Regions from separate parts of the Homo sapiens genome. Here all the other regions are linked to region 1. The links are contacts of gene promoters, found by promoter capture Hi-C in human tissues and cell types (Jung and others, 2019). All regions are on one chromosome and are shown on one strand. Each heading gives the region's core, a stretch centred on a gene start or on the middle of the fragment in contact. The rest is flanking DNA. Distances are from core to core; before and after follow the strand shown.

Region 1 (5,160 bases), core at 1,395-3,894:
GTGCTCCTCCATATTTCCCTGCACCCCTTGCAGTCAGGAGGGTGCAAATCGATGAGATGAGAGAGGACATGGCCTCTGCCACTTCCCGGGGAAGGCAGGTGACTATCCAGTGTGTCTCCTTAGGTGCACTTCTACTCCCCACCCCACCATCTGCTGGATGTTTAAGCCAGGGTGAACTTGAAGTTCAAAGATGCTGAACCCACAAGAGAAGCAATCAGAGTCCCCAAGTCACTACTTGGAGAAAAGCTGCACAGGAGAGCCTCCCAGCCAGCCTTCAGGGGACTGTGTGAGCAAAATAGGACATTTCCTGGGTAACCTCTATTTCCAGCAGTTCTGAGAGCTGCTGTTTCAGTCTGTGATGCTGCCAGTATGTAAAGAGGCAAGGTGACCAAAGAGGCATGGTCCCTGCAGGCACCAGTTTCCAGAGGTTCAATCTATTGTGTGGGGCTCATATGAGAAAGCTCCAGGTATAGGGACAGATGGAGTGTCTGGAAGGTGACCGCTTCCCAATTCCAGCTGATGAGTTCATTCAAAGCAGTACCCCACTAGAGGCTGAGGATGCAGGGAGCAGATCTAGCCCCAAGGGGTGAGAGAGGGAGCTGCAAGGGGCAGGCAGGACATTTGGACTCCTGCACATCGGGCTGCTGTGAGAGTTTGGTTCAAACTCAGAACCAGAGCAGAGGGCAGGAAACCAAGGGTGAAGCTAGCCAGGGTGGTAGAGGAAAGGTCCAGGTTTGAAGATGACATACAGCTCCAGGTTCCTTGGAAAGCCACAGACAGAAGCCCTGTGGCAACTCCACTTACGCAAGAGGGAGCCAGCTGGTGAGGCCAGGGCTGCAGCCAGACTCTTCCAACCCTTGTAAGGGGACACAAAATCTAGAAGGATCTGACCCTCACAGCTTCCCGATGCACAAGGCTGGGAAGGTAAGCTAGTTCAAGTCCAGGCATATCTATGGAACCAAAACCCTATAGAAGCCCCAAACTCAGAGACAGAAGTATTAGCAAGTTCCAAATCAGGGTCCCATTGACACCTGCGCTATCTACTGTAATCACTTCTTTGTTTTGAAATAGGATCTCTGGCCCCCATTACTGTCACTGGTGCTGCCAGAGAATGACAATGAGCTTAAATGTCATAGGGATTTGGGGAGCAATTTTCTTTTTTTTTTTTTTCAGCCTATTATAATTTTTTTTTATGACTGAACTACTATAAATCCACAAGCAACGGTTCAGACACGTTGCTTCTGAAGTGTTTCACCCCTCCCCGCCAGGCGCAAGCTGCATCAAGGAGGGGGTGGACTCCCCCACCTCTGCTCAGGCATCAGGAGACAGATAGGGCCGTTACTGCTGAGCGCCAGTGGCAGCTGGAACAGGCATCCCAAGGGGGTTGGCAGCAGCAATCACTGGTGAGCCTGCCAGAGGTCCAAGGGGTGAAGGAGTTGGCACTGAAGAAATCCCTGACATCACATTGGCGCTGCTGACGGGCGTACTGCCCCCTGGCATGCTAGATGAACCCATTCGAGCCTGGTCCTTCACAACAGTGTAGAAATAGGGGTGCTCCATGGCCTCTCTTGCAGTAAGCCGTGACTGGTGGTCATATCGCAGCAGTTTGTCCAGGAAATCCAAGGCCTCAGGGCTGACAAGGTGCTGATTTTCACTGTGGACAAAGCGTTCCCATCGCTTTCGAGAGTGTCTGCCCAAGATATCATTGAAACGTGGATCTAATTCAATGTTGTATTTGTCAATATAGCCATATAAATCTTCTGTCCCCAGAAACTTGGCTATCCTCACCAACTGATCATAATTGTCACGTCCATGGAAAAATGGCTCCTTCCGAAAGATCATACTTGCCAGCATACAACCCAATCTCCACATATCCAAACTATAATCGTACATCTGATAGTCTACAAGTAGCTCAGGACCTTTGAAGTATCGGGAAGCAACTCGGACATTATATTCTTGGCCAGGATGATAAAACTCAGCCAAACCCCAGTCTATTAGTCGTAGCTTTCTGTGCTCATGATCAATCATGACATTATGGGGCTTGACATCTCTGTGCATAATTCCCATGCTGTGACAATAATCCAGGGCCTTCAGAATCTCATACATGTAAAATCGAATATCATAGTCTGTTAACGTCTGGTACAATTGCTTGAAGTCTGTGTTGTTTACGTGTTCAAAAACCAAGGCGGGGGTTCGTGACACAGGGTCTTTTACAATGTCTGCCAGTGTGATGATGTTGGGACCTCCTCTCAAATTCTCCAAAATCTTTATTTCACGCTTAATTTTCTTCTTTTTTACTGGCTTGAGAATTTTAACAACAACTTTTTCATTATTTGTGATGTTGATGGCTTCAAATACTTCACTGTATTTACCTCGGCCTAATTTTCGAACCAGCTGGTAGTCATCTTGATTTCCCCATTCCACCACATGTGACTCGTAATCCCAGTATTCTCGAGGTCTGTGTGTATTAACATCTGTGTAAACTCTGGCCCTGCTTGGCACGGGTCCCGACATGTCAGACAGGTTGGCGGACAAAGCTGGACTTGATGTTTGGAGATCTGGCAGTCACTGTGTTCAGAAGCAGCTTGGGGGTAAGACCTTGTTTCAGACCTGTTTTCTTCACACTGTGGTGGAAGCGGCAGCGGCTGTGGCCGCTCTCCCTTCTGCTCACACAGACAATATGGCGGCGATGGAGTGGGGAGCAATTTTCTAAAATCCAAATAAAAACCTTCCCATCTCTAATCTGAGAGTCATTTTTATCAGCTAACTGGGCTCATCTATTTACTCAGCATATTCAGAGCCCTTTTTGGGGGTTAAGTCCCTTTCAATTGCTGTGAGGCACCGTCTCCTTGTGGACATGCTTGTGCTATCCAGCTGCTATTCAAAGCACATCTCCTGGACCATGTTTAATTTATACTTTCCTATATGAAGATGAACCACTTACTCACTTAAAGTATTTCTTTTTTTATGTCTCTAATCAGTGGCTGTTTCTTTCCTCTCTCTGAAGCTTAATCGAATCAGAAACAAATCCCACACATATGAATGGCTCATTAGCATGTCCCAGTCAGATTCAAATTGGCCGTCCATACCAGATGCCCCCAAAAGGATAACACTGGCCCAAAGAAGGACTCTTTAAACGAGTGTCCAAAGGGTGTTGCCATGATAAGCCAGGAGGGTTCTTTCTGAAATCCAGGGTAGATACACTCTGTCATTCCCAGCACCATAGAGCCAACTGATGGCAGGTAATGGATGTGTCATTGAGATGGGGTTGGTGGGAGGCAATGTGGCCAAGCCTGGGGAGCAGACATCAGAGGAATGTCTGGTGTCTATGTGTCTGGCTCAAGCATCATCCTCACACTTGGCTCAGTGGGGCCCTTTTATCAAATGATACAAATGAGGCTGAGATGCTGAACATTCTCTCGCTCAGAAATGATATTTGTTCTAAAGAGCTTCCCCTCTTAATCAAATGAAACTCAGATTATAAACACTGGTATGCTACATCTTCTCTTAAAGGATTTGCTCTTTTCATAGACATCAGAATGAATCGTCAGCATGGGCATCATCACTGGTGTCATCTCTGAAAGTCACCGATAGCAAACTCTCATTTAATACAGATTTACAAAAGAGATCAGCATACTGCAATAGAGTAGAACTGAAGGGAACCTAACCAGGACCTCCCTTCATTTCCCAGGTGAGCAAACTAAGGTTCAGGGTCACAGGATAATTTAGAAGCACAGTAAGATATGGATCCAAGAGCCTGCCTTTTGGAAGACAGGAAGTCATTATGGTTCAGAGCATAGCCTCTGGGGCCAAACAGTCTTGGTGTCAAGTCCTACATTTCCCATTTGCTGAACTGGTGACTTTAGGCAATTCACTTCACCTTCCAACACTCAGTTTCCTTGTCTATGAAATGGAGATAAAAGTGATAAATTCCAAAGATAGTTGCTGTGAGAATTAAATGAAGTAATACACAGAGACAGTTTATTTCATCACCTGGAAGAAGTTTAGAGGCCCCTAAGTATCAGCTATAATTATTATCACTATAATATTCCACTGATGATAAGATTCACTATTGCTATACCACAGCTTTTCGGGACAGGGGAAAACACACTACATTCCTCTGAGCTCAAGATTTATATACCCAAGTGCCTACGTCTCACCTTCACTCTCATGTGTCTCAGGCATCTCAACCTTACCATGTCCAAAACGAAGTTCCCGATTTTCTTCCCTGCCTCCCCATCTGTCCCTTAGTCTGCCCCTCATCCATCTAATAGCCGAAGCCTGTAACCTGTAATTCATCTGTAGCAATGTCTTCTTCCTCCCTCTCCACATCCAATACATCGGCAAAAGCAGACAGTTCTACCTCCTAAATATAGCTTGAATTTAATCACTTCTCTCCATCTGCACAGCCAACATCCTGGTCCAAGTCCCTATTATTTTTGTGTGGGCATCTCCATCCAGAGCCTCTTCCCTGGTCTTTCTGCGTTGTCGTGTTGCCCTTCAATCCGTATTGCCCTCCAATCCACTTTTTAAAATTATACATCAGAGCATGTCCCTCCTCTGCTTTAATGCAGTTCAGCAATTATTTACTGAGCACTTACTATGTGCCAGTCTTTGTTGTAGGAGATGGGAATCTTACCACAGAACAAAATATAAAAAATCCCTGACTTTCTGATACTTACACTGTGTTTTTTCTGTTACAGCACTCCCTATGGACTGAATTGTCTCCCCCTTCCTCAAATTCATATGCTGAGGCTGTAACTCCCCATGTGACTATATTGGAGATGGGGCATTTAAGGAGGTGATTAAACATGCACAAAAAATTCTCAGTAGAATGACCATATGTTCTGGTTTGCTGGGGACTATTCTGGTTTATACCTAGTGTTCCACTGTTATTAGTAGCACCCCCTTTCACTCGCAAAAGCTTCTAGTTTGGACAGTAAATTAAAATTTATTTACATATTTATTATTTATTTATATATGCCAAATGTATAAGGTCCAACCTGATTTTAGAAACACTGAAATCCCAAATAAGTATCTGTCTTAAAATCATGGTCTTACTAATCTTTTCCCTCCCCTAGTCCATGATTTCTCTATATTACTACAATCCTAGTGTGGTGAAAATTAAGCAAGTCATCAAGACCCTCACCTCCTGATGTG
Region 2 (5,160 bases), core at 1,128-3,627, 120 kb before region 1:
ATGGGGGAGAGCATGTATCCCTTTAAACATGCTTAATTAAGCTGGGTGAAACACTGGACTCCTTAGCAACGGGCTGGGCCTTGAAGCAAGTCTTGTGGCATATTTGCACAAGATGCTCTGTGTTTGCCCATTTGAAATGGGATCGATCTATCTGGAGGATGCCTCCATGTCTTGTACTAGGACATTCTTCCTTGGCACAGCAATATGGCCCTCCCTAGGACTCTCCTTATAGATGAGCTGTGATTCTACTATTCAGAGAGGTTGGCCGGCTGCCTCCAAGCAAGGGATACAAGATGTACAGGTAATAGTGATGCTATTCAGAAGTGATATTTGACATATTTAATAACAGGGACAGCACAGGCTCTGGCCAGTCAGAACAAGCAACAGCCATAAACCACAGATAGAGCTGTTCTGGTAGGTACTTGCTGAATATCAGCTGTGGAAAAAGTTAGAGTTTACATAGAGCTTCACATATATTTCCCTGTTTGATCATAGCCACAACCCCGTGAGAGAGGTTTGGTACTTTCTTAATTTTAGAGATTTCCCAATTCTGAGGTTCAGAGAGGTCATATGTCTTCCCCACAGCTGCATAGGTCATCAAAGAGCTGGAAGCCAAGCACCCTCCTCCATGTTCTTTCTACTGTACCACGTGGCTTGTGTCGATACAGACCCTTGGGCTGGACCAATCCTGGAAGATCAAGAGCTGACTGGTGAGCCCAGGGCAAAGGTGGTGGGGGTAGGGTGAGAGGTGCAATGCTCTGGGATTTGTAGAAAAGTCAGGGTGGAGCCAGTGCCCCTTTCTGTACCCTCCACTCACATAGCACTATGATCCTATAGGAGGCTCGGGTTAAGAAAGGGCTGCACAGAGTCAACACAGAGAGGAGCATTCTTGGGAAACAAGGACACGGTTGTTTATTTGGGAGGTGATCCCCGGAAGCACAATGATGAAGTAGGCAAGGTTAGACATAGAAGACGAAAAAACAATAAAGTGAATGCTCTGATGAATGAGTTACAGTCATGGGCAACTGGGGTTGATCCCTGGAAGCTTTCTGAAAACCATGTGGCCCTTGCCTCAAAATCGAGCCACTGGAGGGGCAGGGAGCCTGGGGCACTTATTCACTCCCTGCCATACCCACCCCGGGCATTAACTCCCCCGCATGTCACGGTGGTGACTGGCCACTGAGAGCAGGCTCTCAGGCAGGATGCCAGCCAGGCAGAGAGGAGGGACATGCACGGGGGTGAGAGCTGAGATGTCCTCATAGCTGCAGGTAAACTCAGGTGGGCTGGATATGGGATGGAGGCTCCACAGCATGTGTTACACTCATGAATCCGAATGACAGTAGAAAACAGGAGACAGGCGTTCACCATTGTGGGCTCATTTTCTCCAGGCAAGGGAGGAGGCCTCCATGTTTCAGGTATATGCCATGCCCAAGACAATGCTTGATGTTTTAGGAAACTCAGGGAATGTGTCCCTCCATCCTTTTGCTATGAAATGTTAGCATCTGGACTTGCCTCTCCCCCATCCTCTGACTTATTTGGGGAACCTCTGCAGTGGGAGGGAGCTTGCTTTTTGCTCTGGTAGGAAATGCCATATCCTCCCTACCACCAACTGAAATCTCCCCTCCCTTCTATGGCCCCCAACCTCACACCAATCTGCAGCTGGTACCTCTGCCCTGCCAGAGGGTCTGGTGGAGACATCTGACAGATACAGAATGTTTTAATTTTTGAAGCCATTGATCTAGAGCATGTTAACAAATGGCACCTGTTGGTCCAAACGTTGTTTGCCATCCATCTTGTCTTATCTGAGCACTGACTGCATCTAGATGGGAGCTATGTCAGTCCTCAGGGACAGATTGCTGTGCAGGGTTCCACCCCACAGCCAAGAGGAATTATCCCTCCAGCCTAAGAATGACAAGGGCAGTGCCTCTGTGAGTGGCTCAGGGGCCAAGAATGGGAGAAAGTGGGAGGAAATTGCCCGGGAGTGGCTAAGAAAAAAGTATTTTCACCTCCATTCTAAGGGTCAGTCTCTTGGTACATCTCAGTGATACGCTGAAGAGATTGGACTGTCACTGACAAACCTCAGTAGGTAACTTCATTGCTGTAGTAAGTGCTGAGCCAGGGGGTCATCAGCAGGGGGTGGAGTAGCCTTTATCCTGTTGTGTGAACCTGGGCGTATCATTTGTCCTCTCTTTCCTTTCATCACACCATCTATAAGATATGCAGAGAAGTCTCTGCCCTGCTCCATCTCATTAGGCTGCTGAACTGGGTTGTGCAGGACAGCATTAGAACAAGTAGAAGGAACCATGGGAATGCATTTTATTTATGAATCAATGTAAATGAGTCAGAGTGAAGAAAACCTATGCAGGGTGGGCACAGCTGGGCACAATGACTCACCTACAGCCTTGAGGTAGGATTGGTGATGTCAACCCATCTGAATCAAGGCACAGTCTGCCTGCAGAAGGGATGGGGCCTAGGGAGAAACTGGGCTTCAGAGAGGAGGGTTGTTAGCCTGTTCCCAGCTCTGCCTGAGAGATGGGTGTTCTGCTTTGGCGTGAGGACAATTTCTAGATCTTGGTAAAAATAATCTCACTTCTTAATAGCCCTCTTGCCTTATTCTGACATACCAAGCAAGCCTCAGAAGAATGTTTTGGCCTCCTCAGGACTATAATAAGGTGTCCTGGTACAGTGGGCATTGGTTGGGTTTGCTGCCCAGCATCCACCCCTGCATTGTGGTGCCCATATCCAACTTCCCTCTTTCCCCTACACTCAGCCCTTGTGCTTGGGAGGCACCAACTCTTGGCTTAGGGGTGGAGCATGTGATCTAGGCCTCAGGCAATCAGAATGTAACACTCCTCTGCTGGTCGCAAGGCTTGGCTCAGAGTTGGCTATGTGACCTCATTAGGGCCAAGGAGATGCCATGAGATGCATGCTGAGGCTTCCAGAGGAGACTCTTCCACTCCTGCCAGCTAGACTTGAAGCTGGGAAGATGGGATCCTGGAGGCAGGAAGCCATCTATCCACCATGTGGAGCCTAAATCAACAAGGTAGAACCCAGAGAAGGAAGAAATTGAGTCCTGATGATACCATTTGATGCCTGAATCCAGCTGTACCTGAAACTAGATTTATTCCCTGGAACTTTCAGTTTTGAAAGCTGATAAATTCCTTTTGCACTTAAGTCATTTTTGAATTAGAATTCCTGTCTCTGGCAACTGAAAAAATCTCAACTGAAATGCCTGGACAAGAGACAGAGCACTGCAGTCACCTTTACCAATCATTAGGCTGGCATTCCCACTTTACAATGTGACTTTTGAACCTGGTTATGTGAGTTTGCTGCTGAAAAATGACTTTGGGGTGCACTGCAAAATTTCACTTGCTAAACTCAGATGGCTGAGAACCTGGCTGGGGTACAACCCACCCATGAAAGACACTTCTTGAGAACTTGGTTGGGGTATAACCCATCTATGAAAGTCCCTTCCCGAGTGGCCATTTCTGGCACTGAGTGACATCTCTGTGGTCACTGTGGTTGGTACCTTATTTGTGTCTTCTAATCACCAATGTGTCCCTGTGAACCCCCATCCTTCATGACAGGGCTGGGGAAGACAGCAAGTACTAGCTCACATATCACTCATCCCTTTATTCATTCAGGCATTCTTTATTTATCAAATAAGTGAACAAGGAAATGGTAATAAATCCAGTTCGTTGACTGAGGTGGGAGTAATATTCGAAATACTGCATTTTACAACCAGTGTGGTCTACCACAGAAGCTGTAGTACCTGAACATTTCCATGTGAGGGCGCCTCCGGGGGATGCTGGCCTGCACCAGGGACCTTAGCCCAGCCCAGCATACACCTACAGGGGAGTCAGTGCCAAATGCCATCAGGGAACTGTTTCTCTTCAGGGCTCTGGCCAGGAGACATGTGAGCAAGGAGGTTGGCTGGTGCATGTCTGGGGTCATCGAGTGAGCACAGAAGTATTTCAATGTTTTAACAGCTGGTATGGCTTTACTGGTGAGTACTGGCTGCACATCAGGCCTGAACGAAGACCAGGTTTTAAAGGGCTTTGCATGCCAAGTTGAGAAAGTTTTATTCCATCTTGAAGACAATGGGGAGTCACTGGGGTATTAAGGAGATTGGCCTGACCAGATCTATGAGATAGGTGCCTACTTCTAGTGACAGCACAGGAGATGTCTGGATGAGGGACAAGAGACAGGTAATCTGGAAAGGAGGCTGGCAACAGTGAGGCAGCTAAGGGTGGGGTCCATGTTGGAACAGTCTTTTCCTTTTAGGGACCACTGAACCAGATGCTTGGAAGGCCATGGTATTGAGATGATGTGTGTGGTCTAGTTGAGTTTCTGTAAAACTTTCGTAAACTTGATACTTTCTCTGACGATGTGGGTTAGGAGCCAGCTATTTTACGCAGTTCATTTACTATTGTATTTAGGAAGTTCCTGAACACTCCCAGGAAGCCTGCCCTTGCAAGATATCGCCCTTCATTCCTTAACTCAGATGCTCCACTGGGATTCTGAGAAGCTTCAATTCACTGATATACATCGGTGGGAGCTGCTGAGCCATTTAAGCTTTGACTATCTCTACTTGAAAGGCATGAGATAAAGTTTTCCACTGCTGGAGAGGAGAGCATTTAAGTGACTTAGGCTCTCAACCAATCACACTCCCCCAGCAACCCTGAGAGGGTCCTTGAATGTTAATTTCATGATTCAAAATAAATGGATCATCAACCTTTGGGAAATTCATTCATCAAACATACACTAAGTCCCTACTATGCACCAGGCACTAGGGAGGATAAATGAAGCTGCAGGAAATGCCAGAGGTTTCCTTTGCTTCTTTCACACATCACAAAGCACATCATCAGCTCACAGATGGGAGTGTGCTAGGCAAATCCAATGTCCCTATTCTATTTCCCCAATAGGCAAAGCACTCTGTGCACCTAGGCAGAGTTAGTGGCCAGAGCAGCTCAGGAGCTCCAGGAACCACCCCCTTCCTGGGTCTGCTTCCTCCATTTCCCTAAGGTAAATCTTCTTTGGCACCCAAAGTCTGTGGTTCCAAGAAGCCACAGGTCAAAACAAGCACTAGTGTGCCAGGTCACCTCTGTTATTCCCAGTGTCGGAGAACCATGCTCCCGCAAAGATCTTTAATATGGAACC
Region 3 (5,160 bases), core at 1,094-3,593, 110 kb after region 1:
CAGGCTGGTCTCGAACTCTTAACCTCAAGTGATCCACCCGCCTCAGCCTCCCAAAGTGCTGGGATTTCAGGCATAAGCCACCGCACCCGGCCCTTCCTTTTCTTTAGGCTGCCCTTTTCTCATCAGTAAACACAAGGTGATCTCTAAGATCCCTTCATGCCCTAAAATGTCACAATTCTAAGGTGCTCAGATCACTGATTGTGGCTTACACAGGGCCTGGTGGCTTTCACTCAGAAGCAGAATGTTCAATGGAACCACCTGAAGTCACACAGCCAGGCAGCAGCTGATTCTAGGACCGGGAAGTAAAAAAGGGTCTTAATGCCCTCATTCCTGCTCAGTGCTCCCTCCACCACCCGGGAGGGGTCCTGCAAAATGGCTCTGGGGAAAGGCAATCTGCTCAAAGAACAAGTATTTGGGGTGTCAGCCAAACCCCAGAGCCTGAGCCCTGGGCACACCAGCAAACCTCCTCTCTCAGAGACCCCTTAACTGTGTTGGTGCCTGGGTCTAGATGTATAGCATGCACCTGCCCCTACAGGACAGGCAGGTGGGAGGGTAAGCAGTGCTCTGCAGTGTGGAGAGAGAGGATATCAATCACAAGACCCTGGAACTATTAGTACAGTCTCCCACAAGAGAACAGGGTTCCTGCTTCCCTCAGTTATCACTGGCTGTATCCTCACACATGGACATACACACTCAGACAGACAGACAGACACACACACACACACAGAGAGAGAGAGAGAGAGTTCCAGAAGCCCGCAGCAGCCTACAAAAGCTCATCCTGAAAACAGATTCTTCTAGTCCCAAGTGGTTGCTCACTGCTTATAGCAAGAGCATTAAAAATGTGTCATTTCAAAGATGAGAAAAGAACACTTACAAAAACAAACTTGTGAGAAGAAATATTATTCAGTTAACTAGCCCACATCTGATTCTTTAAATGTAGTGTACAGTGCAGAAGGATAAATACGAGCCAGGGCCCCAGCGAGGTTGAGGTCTGCTTACACGTCCCCTGGGAGCCCTAGCTGTTGTGGCCCCAGGGCTGAGCGTGCCATCACTCCCAGCAGCTGTCGGCTCACTGGACGTCTTTTCATTACTGTCCTAAGTCGTAAATCTCTCACCCCCAGCAGTCACAGCTGTATTTCATCAGGGAGAAGTGGATTTGTCCTTCGAAAAAACTGAACAAACAGGCCCTCCCAACCCCAGGCCCTGGCAGGATAGGGAAAGGCTTTGAATCCACGTCAAAGAAGCCATCAAAGGAAATAGGCCATTTTCAAACAAAATCCATTTCTTGAGCATGACGGTAAAAATATTTATCACATGAAAGATGTGAAACCTTTATGCTGTCTCGACGCTCTGTATTATGAATGCAGTATGTGTCCGGCGGAATGTGTGCAAAAACCGTCATGCTCATGATTTTGAAAGGGGGAAAAATTAGTCCTTTCCATCTGGCAAATTCTTAATTTACCAACCCAGTCTTGCTCTGTGAGCACCTGAAGCAGAGGAAGGAGGCAGTCCCGGCCTGCAGCCAGACAAAATAAGCAAAGGTTTTGGACAAAGAAACTGCACGTCCAAGATGTAGTGAATGGGGTCCCAAGCTTATCTATCTCTGTCAGCCATGGGCTTTGAAAAGCATCCATACTGATAGCTCCTGTACAAGGTCAGGCAAGGCTTCTTCAGTGGGTCCCAGGATTTTCCACAAAGTCTAAACTTTCTTCCATAATCATGAGTTTTTGCTCCACAAATGGATTTTTAAAGTGAACAAAAAAGCCTATGCCCAGAAAGATCTTGAGAGGCCAAGCCAGCCTTCCCGGGAGACTCGAGGTCTCCTAGGCTCAGATCTAAGGAGGACTCTGCTCAGAGGCCCTGCAGCCCTGAAGTTCCTCCTCCACACCATGCCTCAAAGTTGGTGGGCACCCAGAGATGGCACCCTGATGCACAGCCTGTCTTGGTCCCATGAACATCTCCTCTTCAGGAAGGAGGCATGGGCCCAGATCTAATGCCATTTCCTCCTGGTGGGTGGTTCAGAAAGAAGCTCCCTCGTGGGCCCTGGCACACTGAGAAAGACACATTGGCTTGCCCTACTTTTTTCTGAGTACCCACAGAAAAGTGAAAATTAAAGTCCATGAATTTGGCATTGTAAATAAAATGAAATTCATTTATTTGATTAATATGCATCAAGATACAGCAGTGCAGAGAGCAGCATAGCCTAGCGGGGAAGTGCCAACCCTCTGAGTCACACTGCCTGAGTTTGGAGCTTGGCTTCACTACTCACTAGCTGTGTGACCTTGTGCAAGTCACTTAACTTCTCTGTGCCTCCATTTACTAATGTTGAAAATTGGGGATAATCATATTACCTACTTCCTTGTGGGGTTATTGTGAGGACTGAATAAGTTAATAACAGAGCCTTTCACATTCTATGGGCAACATAAACACCGGCTGTTGTTACTATTATTGTTACTGGTCAGGTGCTGGGCTGGGAGCTGGGGATGGAATTACGAGCAGTGGGGAGTTGTTGGGGTGGCTGCTTATTATTTCTTGTCTTCCCCACCAGAGTCAAGTACACAGAGTAACTTAGAACATAAGGCAACTTCTCTATCCTCTCTACGAGGACAGAGAGAATACAGATCCCACTGGTAACCTGGGCGAGGTGCCTTGGGATGCCTGAGGAAGGTCTGTTCCCAGATCCTCAGCCCCATTCCTGCTGAGGTCAGGGGAGGAAGGGATGTCAAGGAGGCCACATTGGCACCGGGAGCTGAATGCCACAGTGGGAGGGTCTGTATTTAGACTGATTTCCCCTGAGACTGGGGAGTTGGGTGGGCAGGGTCATCCATCACACTGTGTAGCCCAGGGCTAGGAAGCAGAGATTCCCACCTTATGGAGCTGTCACTGTGCAGGAAAACACCAAGGATTACTCAAAGCTTGAGTGCTGCTCCTCCAGGCTGCACGGACGGTGTCACGCTGCCCTCTGATCCTGGGGCTCGTGATCCGTATCCATGGCAGCTCAGTAGCCACAGAAGCCAAAGCCACCTGGCCATGAGGTCAGGAAGCACAGCTTAGGAAGGGTCTTGAGAATGGCCTCCGGGAACCAGAGAGGCCTGGAGGTGACAAGCTTCTCTGCTGCTGGGGCTGATCAGGGGTAGAGAAATGGAGTGCCCAGACCACTTCATACACTTGCTTCACCCACCTGTATAAGACATACCACGGTTAGCTCCTGGACCATGGACCTGGGCAAGGTCAGCTGGCTCCATATTAACCTCTTCTCCTCTGCCAGGCCCCAGGAGGATGTGGAATTACTGCACGATATTTATGTAGGGTACTCAGCTATCTCTAGGGGAGGGGCTTGCACTGTCATACTGCTGAGTACTTCTGCCTTCTTCCCTGGCCTCACTGCATGGCTCACCAGTGCTCTGCTCAACATAGGGGGTAGGAAGGTCTCCCAGATGTGGATGTGAGCCAAAGTCAGGGCCCAAAGGAACCACAGGAGGCATCCATCCAGACCAGTGCTTCTCAGCTCTTCTCAATCATAACCTACAAAACTGTATTTTTTGCATTTCACCCATTATACGCAAACAGATATAAGGGAAACGAGGTTACAAAACAATCTTTAGCATGACCATGTGTGATTAACTCTGACACATTCTGTTTTATTCTGTAATATTCTATTAAGAAGGAATGCTGTTCATGACCTAGTAAATTGATTTCATGGCCTGCTGGGTGGGTTGTGACTGCATTTTGCAAAACACTGATGTAGATCAACGGACTGCAACCTTTATAAACCAGTGCCACCTTTACGTGAATATTGAAATCCCTACCCTCCTTTCATGTTACTTGAAATTTGAAAATAAATTAGGTATCACAAATGAAAACAAATAGAAACAATGGCCATTTTGAAATATGATTTTTCAAAGTACATGTGCCACTTGACTTTCCCAAGATTTTGATACGGACACCCAGGAAAGGAGGGATGATCCCCCATTGAAAATAACTTATTTACAACTGAGGTTTCCAAAAGAGTCTGTGGAGCCCCCTTGGGGACAGTGGACCCTGAGAGAGGGGTGAGGGGAGTCTGAGACCCCTCTTTCCTCCTTTGCCAGAATAGCTCTAATTCAGTCTGTTTACCTATTAGGATTTTGCATAAGAAACCCTTTAAAGAAAGGGTCTGTGGCCAAAGAAGGTGCTTTGAACCATGAAAGCTAATGAGTTCATCTGTCTCCTTTCTCAGGGGAAACGATGAGGCCAAGGCATTTTTTCTATCAGAGAGGTTGGAGGACTTGCTAAAGATGACACAGAGAGGTAAAGTTGGGGCAGGAATGAGCGGGAAGCAAGACAGAAGGGAGACCTGGGCAGGGTGTTCCTGAGCTCTTCAAACTGCTTCCAAAAGGCCTGGCAATAGGACACACGCAGATCAATGAAAGGACCCATTACTTGGCTTATGTGCAATTTCTAGAAGGCTCAGAGTAGAAAATCTTCTTACCTACTGGGAGTCAGAAGCCCTGATTAACAGCTACATGTGTCTTTGATTAATAAAAGATGGAAAATGAACTGCTCATCTCTGCACACAGGCAGTATGTGCGGAGGAGAACATCTTCCGAACCTGGGGCCCGGGAGGCAGGAGGCCCTTAATGGGGAGAAGATAGACATCACCGTGTGTGCCCACCGGCTGCATATGCTATGTGTGCCCACGGCAGGCAGGAGGGTTCTGCTGTCTCTCCACACTGACACGCAGAAGCCACACTGAGGATCAGGGCTCATAGCTCTATAGCAACTACTACATCAGGTGCTGCTGCCCCAACCTAGGTCACCCATGGCTCCATGGCCAGAAATCTTCCCAGTGCCACTGGTTCCGCTGCAGCTGCCACCCCTGCCCCTTCACAGAGCCCTTTCTTACCCAGAGCCAGATGAGAGAGGTGATATGGCAGAGGCTTTTCTCCCAGCTTCCAGCAACATCCTCTGAACACAGCACAGGCGCCATGCCAGTCTGATGGCCAGATGCAGGCATTTAAAGGGAACCACTCTGTTTGCCAGAGCAAGCCCAGGTCCCAGCCATAAATGTCCCCAAGGGTTGGAATCAGCCCAGGAGACACGCCCACACGCTCATGCATTGTGCACATTCAGGGCACAGACAGGCACCATGGCTGAGAACACAGTTTAACCCAAGTTCTC
Region 4 (5,160 bases), core at 1,075-3,574, 92 kb before region 1:
TAAGAAAGTAGTTTACACTTGAGCCAATACATGATTTTTCAGGACAAGCCATGTAACCTCAAATGGATGTAATAATCCCAGGTTATTGTGAAGCTCAAATGAGTTAGAGCCCCTTGTGAGCTGTAAAACTCTGTACACCTGGTAGTTTGTAATGACTTGGGTTTATAGAGCCTTCTCATTTCCGAAGCCTCTATCCAAGGTGAGTCATGTCTATTTCTAAATTTTCTAAGAACCATCATTCTCTCTTGATGAAAAGAAATGGTGCAAGGGAGCAAGAAGCTGGGAACATCAATTTAGGACACGATTATTAATCGCCTGCCTTGTGCACACTCCAGACCCACATATCCTACTGTCAGATTCTTCTGACATTTCATCTGGACATCTCAAAGCGCTCCCAAACTCAATAGGTTTAAGACAATGAGTTCAGCCTCTTGCCTTCCAAACTGGTTCTCTTGAAGTGTTCTCTAGACCAGTGAATGTGCCTCTTTCTGTCCTCTACTCTTCTGTCTTGCTCAGGTTCCATATTCAAGCTCCTGCTATGATCTATCTACTCTACCTCCTAAATGCCTCTGAAATTTATTCTTCTCTCCATCTTCACTGCCATGAGCCTAGTCCAAGCTACCATCATTCCTACCTGCTATCTGGTCTACCCATGGATTGGGTTTGCCTTCATCCTATCAAATCTATTTAGCCATCAAATACAACTGATCCTGTCATCTGCCTGCTTACAACTTTTCAGTGGCTTCCCTCACTCGGAAGAGAAGGACTCTATATTTAACAAAGCATATAGAGGCCCTGCATGGGACAGTACCAGCCACCTTCCACCCCCATCTTTCCCATAGTGCCCCTTCACTCCTCTGGCTCCCCACAATGAGCTTTCCTACAGGTCCTCTCACTGCCACTCCATGGACTATTTATGCAGAATGGAAGGACATGCCTCTATCCTCCAGTCGTGCCTTCTCATGTGCACGTCAGCTTAAGTGTCATTTCCTCGGAATCCACCTCTCACTTCCCTGACTAGTTTAATCTGCCTTTTATACTCTGTCAGGATTCTGTGTGTCCCCCCCTTTTTTTGTGATGGGGTCTTGCTCTGTCACCAAGGCTGGAGTGCAGTGGTGCAATCTCAGGTCACTGCAGCCTCCGCCTCCCGGGTTCAAGCAATTCTCCCACCTCAGCCTCCTGAGTAGCTGAGATTACAGGCACATACCACCATGCCCAGCTAATTTTTGCATTTTTAGTCGAGGCAGGGTTTCACCATGTGGCCAGGCTGGTCTCGAACTCCTGACCTCAGGTGATCCACCCATCTTGGCCTCCGTATGTCCCTTTCTTAGTACTTTGTACAGTTGCACTTTTACATTATTTAATTATTTGATTAGTATTTGTCTTTTCCACTAGACTCTAAGCTCCATGAGGGCAGTGACTGTGTCTCTCTTCATGCATGGTTGTGTCCCCAACATACAGCACACAGTTAGAAGATGGATGCATATATGTTGAATGAAGGAATGAAAGAATGAACACATGCAGGCATGTCAGGCACTGTGCTAGAAGCTGCGGATACAAAGACAAATCACGTAATGTCTCTGCCTTCAGGGCTCTCATTGCCTAGCAGGAAGGACAGTATAGGTAAATAAATGGTTTCAAGAGATCTGTGGAGCCTCTGCAAAGAACAGTTGAATGCAGATAAAATAAACATAAAGGAAATAAAAACAAGCTCAATCATACCAATGTCAGAAAAACTACCTTGTGCATACACACATAAAAACCCCTGGCTGTATATACATGTATCACAGACAGAAACACTCATTCCACAGCACATTCTGAAATACCCGTAGGGATAACAACAGCACCCTTATGCACATATGCACATGTGCACAAGCCAGCATACCACCCTGCACTCACATGCTTCATGCCTGCCCTCCACACAGACACACACACACACGCACGCACACACACACTCTCACTCAGGGCAAAGCTGATATTGATCTTCTTTTATTTACAGAGGGGTGGGAGTCCCAAGATTTTAAGGATGGGTCGATGTGGGAGCAGAGTCCCAGGGAAGGATTATTCTGCAGCCAGACCAAGTGTTCAGTCCCAAGGGGAAGGGGCCTGGCAAGGCCAACAGGGATTCCAGGCCCAGGTCTAGCAAGGCTGTGGCCCCAGTAGAGATGCATTGTTAATCAGGAACTGCAGTGGATGATCCTCCCTATACTTACCTGGTTCCATGTCTGGAACTCTGCAAGTCAGGGTTACTCTGAAACTCAGAGGCTGAGTTTAGGGTAAGAAGAATTGGTCCAAATCCTCACGCGCTGGGAGGAAGGCAGCCAAGCATGGTCATGCCATTCCCTTCCTCCCTTCCTCCCTTCCTTTGGTTTACCTGCTCTCCTCTAGGTGCTGGAGTGGGTGCTAGAACACAGGAAGGAAGCAAAATCACTGCTGTCACAGAGCTCAGTCCGGCAGGGCAGATAACCAATTACAGAAGGGCACGGAGGGGGCCCCAGTCTCACCCTGGAGGCTCAGGGACACTTTCAGAGGAGGTATTTTAAGCTGAATCCCAAGGGACTAGAAAGCGTTAGCTGGGTGATCCTGATTGGGTAGATCTGCAGCAGGGGCTCCCAAATTTGCATCTTACAAACACCAGTGACCCCAGCTGCAGATGCAGGTAGGGGTGGATCACATGTTGAGAAACCCTGGAGTGGAGGGGATTAGGACCAGTCAGGGGAGACGGGAGGAGGCTGCATTGGTAACTGGGGTGTGTAGGAGGTGATCTTTTAAATTCTAGACATGTCGGTGGGAAGGAGAGCCACACCGTGTGTCTTCATACAGATTGCAGAAGGGGACACTCTCCCAGAGGGCAGGTCCGAGGACCAGAGACTCAGGCTCTGAGCTGAGCTTTGTCCATGAGGGGGTGGACACCCTGTGAAGGATTAACCTTCATATTTGTATATTTCCCCTTGAACTACGAGGAAGCTTTATAAAGCAAGCATGAATGGAAAACCTGGCCTGCTCCCACATCTGTGATTTGCCTTTGCTACCACTAACATGTCAGGGAGGTCTGGTCTACCTGACAGCCTTGTGTGGTGGAGGCATGGAGAATTAAAGTGAGGCAGCTGGCCTATTCTAGCCTCAGCTGGTGGATGAGGCAGCATCCTGGAGAGAGCTGAGGGAAGATCGGGGGCAGATGTGAGACAGATCCCCTCACTGCCAAGAGATACCAGGTGAAGGGAAGTGACCATGTTCTAAGTATATGCCTTTCTGTCTCTCACTCATCATAGCCAGTCATTCACCATGCTTGATAATTTATCTCCTCACCTTCCTTTACTATTACTTTAAGTCAGACCTAAGTCGTCTTTCTAACTGACATGTCATTCTCTTATCCTTTTCAGTTCAGAAAACTCCTATTCACCCATAAAAGCCCAGGTTATAATGACCACCCCTTCTCTGTGGCATTCTTGGACTATCCCAGCCCAGATTTCTCTCTCTCTCTCTCTGTCACTCACTCACTCACACACATACACGCACTCACACACACACAGAACATACCTATATTCTATATGAAAAACAACACTGGTCCTCGAGTCTGAAGACCTAGATACAAATTTGAATTATTTCACTTTCACTTAGTAGCTCTGAGAACTTGGGTAAGTTATTGATCTCATCTGAACCTCTTCCTTTCCTCATCTATAAAATGGGTAGTTAATATTTACCTCATGAGCTATATTGTAAGACTTGATAAACGTCAAAGCATGTAGAATATAAATGCACATCACAGACATTCAATTATGGAATTTCTTTTACTTCTCATCACATTGTACACTGAGGAGCTACCATTTTCCTAAGACATCCTTTCAGATAGTAAGCACCTTACAAGAGACACCCAGACTTCTGCTCTTTTCCTCTGTGCCCATACCCAGGGGTCTACAAAAGAACCAGTTGAATAAACAACTATGCAATTGCTGTGACCCCTGGAAAGAAGGTAAACACCTTTGTGAGTTTGGCCCATCCGGTGGATTTTGGTTGGAATCTTTGTGTGCAGCATCCCTGGTTGGCCAATTGGCCAAAGTTTCAAGTACAGGAAAGAGGAGTTTCTGCTCTTCCTCACGTGCTCATCACTCCTGGTGGTTTTCCTTGAACCATAAATCATGACACTGCATTCTGAGCCTCCCTGGCCACACTTCTTGGGTGTGGGCACTCAGGTCTCAGTGTGCATGGCATGCATCCAGAGCTCTGGGCATCCTGCCCTCTGCTCAGTCTTTCCTCAGACCTGCCTTTCCCCATCCTCATCCCCCAGCTCCCAGCCCTGGGTGTCTTGATGTTAACATCGAAGGACAAATGCAGTCCTATATTTCAAAGTCATCAGGCAGATGTGATTAATTTTGGAAATGAACAACAAGAAGATTAATCACAAACTTTCAGGTATGAGCAGCAATAAACAAAACCAGAGCATGGAGCGCTATTTATTAAAACAGTAAATTGAAGGGAAATGGGCTATTTATTTTGTACCATGTCTTCTACAGAAATAATTGGCTCATTAATCACCATGGTCACGTTTGGAAGGGCAGGCTCGCTAGGGAATTGAAGCAGGGGGCGGTGCTTACAGCTCTGGCAGCACATGGAGCTACAGGAAGTTGGTTCCCAGAGGGGTTTTCCTGTGGATTCTGCAGCGAGTGCATAGGCAGTGAGGTAGCTGGGAGGTAGCAGGTTATGGTGGTTAAGACCACAGATGATTGGCAGCAGGGGGCTTGAGTACAAGTTCTGGCTACTACTCCTCGCTAGCTGTGGGCAAACTATTTAACCTCTGTGTCTCAGTCTCTTCTTCTGTAAAATGATGTCAGTACTGGAACCATCTTGTAGGATAACATGCGTTTAAGTGAGTTGGTAGGGCACTGGTATATTACTGGGCCAGGTTTGGCACTTCTATAGGTGTTAGTTGTCATTGCTCCTTTGGTCCAGGTAGAACTTCAGGGTGGGACACTTTGGTATCAATGGCAGCTTCCAGCATAAAGTTATTGTGGAGTTCCCAGGGTCCAGAATGGAGGCAGAATAGTATAGAAGAGGATAAAAGGGAAGGCTCTACAGTCAGCCTCCCTGGGTTCAAATCCAGCCTTTGCTAGTTATATGTCCTTATCGAATGATTTGGCCTTTCTGTGCCTTAGTTTTCTC

Evidence for each region. The method cuts DNA at HindIII sites, captures the fragments that hold promoters and counts their contacts. A contact is called where the count stands out against the background at its distance.
Region 2: a contact is called between a fragment that was not itself captured here and the fragment with the promoter of CSNK2A3 in region 1, in 2 of the 25 tissues and cell types used here (IMR-90 fibroblasts and adrenal gland).
Region 3: a contact is called between a fragment that was not itself captured here and the fragment with the promoter of CSNK2A3 in region 1, in 2 of the 25 tissues and cell types used here (aorta and bladder).
Region 4: a fragment that was not itself captured here is called in contact with the fragment with the promoter of CSNK2A3 in region 1 in 2 of the 25 tissues and cell types used here (adrenal gland and aorta).

What each region holds. Positions count from the first base shown.
Region 1 is chr11:11,350,606-11,355,765 of GRCh38, forward strand. It overlaps CSNK2A3 (casein kinase 2 alpha 3), which reads right to left and starts at 2,645. Exons shown (of 1, transcript NM_001256686.2): 1 at 1,337-2,645. The coding sequence starts at 2,514. The coding sequence ends at 1,339. The region is part of intron 6 of GALNT18 (polypeptide N-acetylgalactosaminyltransferase 18); the gene reads right to left. The HindIII fragment of the contact is 7,765 bases long and covers 1-3,965 here.
Region 2 is chr11:11,227,494-11,232,653 of GRCh38, forward strand. No RefSeq gene overlaps it. Among named protein-coding and RNA genes, the nearest start is that of LINC02752, 110 kb to the left of the region's middle. The HindIII fragment of the contact is 4,347 bases long and covers 205-4,551 here.
Region 3 is chr11:11,462,501-11,467,660 of GRCh38, forward strand. The region is part of intron 1 of GALNT18 (polypeptide N-acetylgalactosaminyltransferase 18); the gene reads right to left. Among named protein-coding and RNA genes, the nearest start is that of GALNT18-AS1, 100 kb to the right of the region's middle. The HindIII fragment of the contact is 4,472 bases long and covers 108-4,579 here.
Region 4 is chr11:11,259,229-11,264,388 of GRCh38, forward strand. LOC124902631 (a long non-coding RNA gene) reads right to left here and starts at 2,402. Exons shown (of 2, transcript XR_007062594.1): 1 at 2,214-2,402. The HindIII fragment of the contact is 7,504 bases long and covers 1-5,160 here.